Regions from separate parts of the Homo sapiens genome. Here region 1 is linked to region 2. Evidence: promoter capture Hi-C in 16 types of primary human blood cells and fetal thymus (Javierre and others, 2016). All regions are on one chromosome and are shown on one strand. Each heading gives the region's core, a stretch centred on a gene start or on the middle of the fragment in contact. The rest is flanking DNA. Distances are from core to core; before and after follow the strand shown.

What was found. The method cuts DNA at HindIII sites, captures the fragments that hold promoters and counts their contacts. A CHiCAGO score of 5 or more calls a contact.
Region 1: a fragment that was not itself captured here is called in contact with the fragment with the promoter of MAP9-AS1 in region 2 in 1 of 17 cell types (endothelial precursors); the score reaches 6.6 in endothelial precursors.

What each region holds. Positions count from the first base shown.
Region 1 is chr4:154,967,970-154,970,862 of GRCh38, forward strand. No RefSeq gene overlaps it. Among named protein-coding and RNA genes, the nearest start is that of RBM46, 190 kb to the left of the region's middle. The HindIII fragment of the contact is 2,143 bases long and covers 190-2,332 here.
Region 2 is chr4:155,352,897-155,355,766 of GRCh38, forward strand. It overlaps MAP9-AS1 (MAP9 antisense RNA 1), which reads left to right and starts at 1,320. Exons shown (of 3, transcript NR_125937.1): 1 at 1,320-1,477. It overlaps MAP9 (microtubule associated protein 9), which reads right to left. Exons shown (of 14, transcript NM_001039580.2): 9 at 2,820-2,870; 10 at 2,175-2,264; 11 at 283-444; 12 at 16-161. The HindIII fragment of the contact is 4,107 bases long and covers 1-2,870 here.

The DNA of each region.
Region 1 (2,893 bases), core at 11-2,510, 380 kb before region 2:
ATACTTGAAGTTAGAAACCCAAGCTATATAGTCTAGAGTATTAATTCATGATAGATTCGATAGATGTGTGGAAAAAACTTTCAAGTTCACATACGTTTGGGAAACATGGGACTATATAAAATTTAAAGTGTAATGTTTTTAACTGAATGATATATTAGAATTTTATAATATTTAGTATAAAAATATTAAAGCTTCTCAAACTTGTCATAAAGCCCTTTTTTTTTTTTTTTTTTTTTTTTGAGACGGAGTCTCGCTCTGTCGCCCAGGCTGGAGTGCAGTGGCGGGATCTCGGCTCACTGCAAGCTCCGCCTCCCGGGTTCACGCCATTCTCCTGCCTCAGCCTCCCAAGTAGCTAGGACTACAGGCGCCCGCCACTACGCCTGGCTATTTTTTGTAGTTTTAGTAGAGACGGGGTTTCACCGTTTTAGCCGGGATGGTCTCGATCTCCTGACCTCGTGATCCGCCCGCCTCGGCCTCCCAAAGTGCTGGGATTACAGGCATGAGCCACCGCGCCCGGCCCATAAAGCCCTTTTAATGAGAAATGTCTCTTAGCACTATGGGCCCTGATGTTTCCATAGAACCTGGTGGAGAAATTGCTCTTGTTGGATGTTATCTTCAACTTTATTTTCTGAGAGATTATTGTATCTAATAATTGATGTTATGTGGTGAGTTTGAAGCATTTACTCATTCTCTGTATTCATCTTCTAACCCTTCCCTTTTAACATTGTGTTGTTGTGTTTTAATCGTCCTAGTGGTAGTATGCCTATAAAAAGGTAATAAAACTAACTTTCCAAGCATCTTTAGATGGTATAGGTTAATTGCACAAATATAGGTTAAATGCAAAGTTGAAGAAACTGGACAATGACTGGTATGTCCCTAAACTATTCCCCTTGGAATGGTTCAAGTCTATTCAAATGACATTTCTTTTGTTCAGCAAATTTTTTTAAGTCTAAAATAAAACTGTCAGGTGAGTGAATAATGAATTGCCATGGAGAAGTTTGAGTGGTTTCTGCAGGGTAGGCTAGACATAAAGAAAAGAATGCATTTATCTGATGATTATTTCCCAATGTAGCCTTTATTTTTCTTCTCCTCAAGTTTTCTACAACACTCACGAAGGGACTGATGATTTATTATTAGGAATGTCTAATGATGTTGGGAGATACTTAAAATGAACTTCAGCATGAACCATATATCTAATTGGTAATTTGCTTGGTTAAAAATCCTTTATACTCAGGGCTTAGACCAAAGATTTCGGTTTGTGCTTCCTTTGAGAGCAATGATCTATTCAATATGTCTAACGAAACCATTATAACTATTTGTTATGATGTTAAAATAATTCCATAGTCTCCTATTTTTCTAGTTATCATTCTAATACAATATTTTTTCTCTCTTATATTAGTAATGTTGTTTCAACATTTCAAAAAAATAGTTACAAAGTCCATATTGAAGAGACATATTGCACATTAGTATGTATCACTAGATATTTATATTGAGCATCTTCCTAGTGTTGTTATCTCTTCTTATTTCTTTTGTTTCTGTTTTTCATTAATTCATCTGCTGACTTTTCTTACTTGAGTCACATTTGCAGTTATGTTTCATGCATATAAGCCCCTGAGTCTAGGGCGTTATTAAATCTCATTAAGTAGAAGGATCTTTTTTTTAATAGTGTCTGTCACTTGACCCTTTTGGACAAAGAATAAAATGTGTCAACTTCTTCCTAATGTTTACCCTGAGATACAAAAACACTCCTGAACACATGCTAGTTTTGATTACATTGATAGCTGACATTCATCCAAAATTTTAAGGCTCCAGGGGACTCTAGACAGCATCCTGAGGTTGGCAGAATGAGCCTGGACATGGGGGTCAGTCAAGTCAGGTTTCAATCCCTACGTTTCACACTTAGCAGTTATGTGGCCTTGGAAAATTGCTTACTATTCTGGTATCCAGTCTTCTCATCTATAACAATGGGATAAGTAGTCACAAAATTGACTGCAGGGTAAATGAGACAATATTTCACAGTGCTGGGAGAACATACCTGTTGGTCATTAAATCTTAGTTTCTTCCTTTTGTATTATAGCTGAGGAAGCAGAGGCCCAGAAGAGCTTGAGGGTTTTCCAAGCCTCCATAGATATACTGGCAGAGCTGAGGCCCAGGTCTTCAGACTCCATGTTTTGATTCCACTATTTAATTGATAAGTAATTTTTTACTTTTAGTAAAAATGAAATTATAGAATAAATTGATATATTGTTTGGTAGAAAACCAAAAGCCTGTGATCTAATATAGTGATTTTCACTGGTGCTTGAACCTCACTGCATGTTAGAATCTTCTAGGAAGCTTTAATAAAATCCCACTGACCAGGCCATACCCCACTCTTGTTAAATCATTGTATCTCAGGGTGGGACTCAGGCATGAAATTGTTTTTATAACTCCCTCTGTAATTTCAATGTGATCTTATGCACAGAATTTGCTGACACTGTTGAGATACTTCAAACCATCTGTAAGATAGTTTTAAAAGTTTGTTCTTTTGTCAATAGATCAGGCATCTTGAGGAATATTGTTTTCCTTAAGTGTTTTCTTGTGGGGAGGGGTTGGGGAGAAAAGGATTTATTTCTTGCCCTGCAATGAAACCAGTTGTCAATGAAGTCTGAGATCTGGAGTTGGCAGATCCAAGCCCTACAGCATAGAGCAGAATATAAAAGGGAGGTGGGGCTGGAGCTGAGGACCCCTGGCAAAATCAAGTGCAATGTGAAGCCACTGAGCTCTTTGCTTCCTGGCCTGGAGGTTTCTCACTGACAACAAAATGTCAGGACCATCTCCCTGAGAAAACTGGGAGGCTTTGGAGAGCCACAGCTCCTCACGGGCCCCTTGATAGCACGTGTCTGTTGCACTGCTT
Region 2 (2,870 bases), core at 70-2,569:
ATGATTTTGGATTACCATTTCTCAACAGCAGTTAAATTATCTTTCTTTTTCTCGGCAACAGTTTCCTCCTCTTTCTGTTTCTTTGCTCTTTCATATTCTCTCTCCTTTCTATTTTTCTCTTTAAGATATTCCATCTTTTTCTCTTTCCATTTTTCAAAAGCCTGAAAAAGTTCAGAATAATTTTCTTACTGTGAATATTTGAAAATAAATAAAAATATGGTTAATCATTAATTTGGATTTCAAATGTTTTAAAATAATTAAGATGTGCAAAGTTCTGAATACTTGTAGTGCTTCTCCTTTTCTTGCAGCATTTTCTTCTTCAGTTTTCTTCTTGTTTTTTTCTTCAAGCCTCTTTTTGGCAGCTATTTTCTTTGCTTCCTTTTCTTTCATAGCCTTCCAGGCCTCAAATGATGCTAATGCTTCTTCTCTTTTAGCAGCTTTTTTCTACAGTGGAAAAAATAATAGAGTGATATACATATATATGTATATATACATAGACACAAATATGGCTAGATATAAATATACACATATACATTTATCTTTAGTCCTCTGATATTCATTATACTTAGAAATTAACTTTCAAAGTAGGTAATTTATTTAGAATGGCTTAGATAATTTACAAAGAATGTTATCTGAATTATTCATTGGTTTTAAAACGTCCTTTTCTAAAAACATTTATCACATATTGACCTATTAATGAGAAAGATGTCAACTATTATTTTTGAAAGTGTACTAAACAAATTATATCAAAATAAACTGTAATAGGCTAAGTGGTATAGTAAAATTTTCATAATAAAATATTTGAAAAAAAAATCAGTAAAGTTATGGGCTTATAAAGTAAGTTAGAGTAAGGCAAATTGGCCAAGCCATGCAGTAAGATGCAGATTTTTGGTTTAAATCTTAATTTTGAATAGTATCAAAACATAAAGTTCTTACTGCACAAATGTATTCCAAATGTTGAAAGTATGTGCTCGACTGAAAAATAGGTTGGAGACTGTATAGCAAGTTATGTTATTATTTTACTTCCTTCAATCTAATCCCATAATATTCTATGTTTGCTTTATTGTTCAATATTAAATGACATAAAACCTTAATATTGGGGTAACATAATTTAGAGGTCAAAGTACTATCTACCTCACAGAGCTACGAAAATCAAATGAGAAGGGGTATGGCACTGACCACAGCAGCATACTGCTATGAACGTGGTTAACAGATAGACAGGCACGCCCCCTGGAGGGCTGCTCCCTTCACTACTGACGCATTATCGTGCAGTTCACCTTGGAAAATATTTTTCTTCTAAATCTATTTTTAGTATTGAACAGCACACTGGAGTTTTTGTCCAGAAGTTTGACTTTAGAAGATAAGAAATAACTGAGCGTATTACAAGCAGGAGTTAGAGGAAGAGACTCAGTACAGAAGAGACAGGAACAAAAGTTCACCTCCATTCAATGGGAAAGGATACAGATCAAGAGTTCAGGTAGGGGTTGGACTTGAAGATACTTATAAAATTCAAGAGAGAAAAGAGGAAAATTGAAGGCTAACTAGTGTCTAATGATCCTTTATCTTGTCGTGCCTTTTTTTTTTTTTTTGAGACAGAGTCTCTGTCACCTAGGCTGGAGTACAGTGGCACGATCTCAGCTAACTGCAACCTCCGCCTCCCGGGTTCAAGTGATCCTGCCACCTCAGCCTCCTGAGTAGCTGGGATTACAGGTGCCCACCACCATCCCTGGCTAATTTTTGTATTTTTAGTAGAGATGGGGTTTCACCACATTGCCCAGGCTGGTGTCGAACTCCAGACCTCAAGGAATCCCATCTGCCTTGGCCTCCCAAAGTGCTGGGATTACAGGCATGAGCCACAGTACCTGGCCTTCTTGGTTAAGTTCTAAATGAAATCAACTTTTAAAAGTGAATTAGGTGCTCATAAACAATAATAACTTCATAATCAGCAGGAACAAAGCTATCCTATACATATACAAAATTAAAATCTGTTTTCATGTAAAACAGTTATATCAAACTAAAATGTATAAAGTAAAACAGAAGTAAAACCGGAAATCATTTCTTTAATATACAAGTTATTTTGCCATTTAAAAAGCTGATTTAGAAAAGTTATATATTCAGGGATATTTTACTGAAATAAAAATCCAAAACATTTTTACTTCTATATGTCAGAATACCTGTTCATTTTGGATCCTTAAGTTTTCACTTTCAATTCTTTTTATTCTGTGCATTTCATGTAAATACACATTTTTCTTTTCTAACCACTCCTATAAGAACAAGAAAAAGGTCATATAATATTTAAAATTTCTTAAGTGAATTAGAATTCTTTATATTAACATTTTCTCTGAAATTCACATGTACAATTTTCTAAAGTATACTATTCTACTCTAAAAAAGACAAAAAAAGACTTTTAGAATTGTGAATAAATTAATACAATCTTTTTCCTATGTACGCCTAACAACATCTCAGGAAAGAAAAAATTTAATAACTTTTTGTTCATAATAACTCCTTTTGTTCATATAAACTTCAAGAAGAAAAAAATGAAAACATATATAGACTTTACAATGTTTTGGCTTGTGCTGTATTTCTATAAATTGCAATGGCATATTCTTTCTTTAAAAACAACTATGGTCAGTTATGCAAAGTGTGGAAGCAAATAATTTAGTAAAATATGATTACTCATGTATTAAAAGGAAACTCTTTCTCAATAAATTTAAGTATTAAACCATCATTTTCTATCAGGATTACTTTATTCTTTATAAACAGTGTAGGCTTATGAAAGTGATCATTCTTCTTCTCTTAAAAATATTTTCCTTTTTTACCTGATAAACAGCTGCCCTTATGTTATCTGCTCTATCAGGTTCTATGCTCTG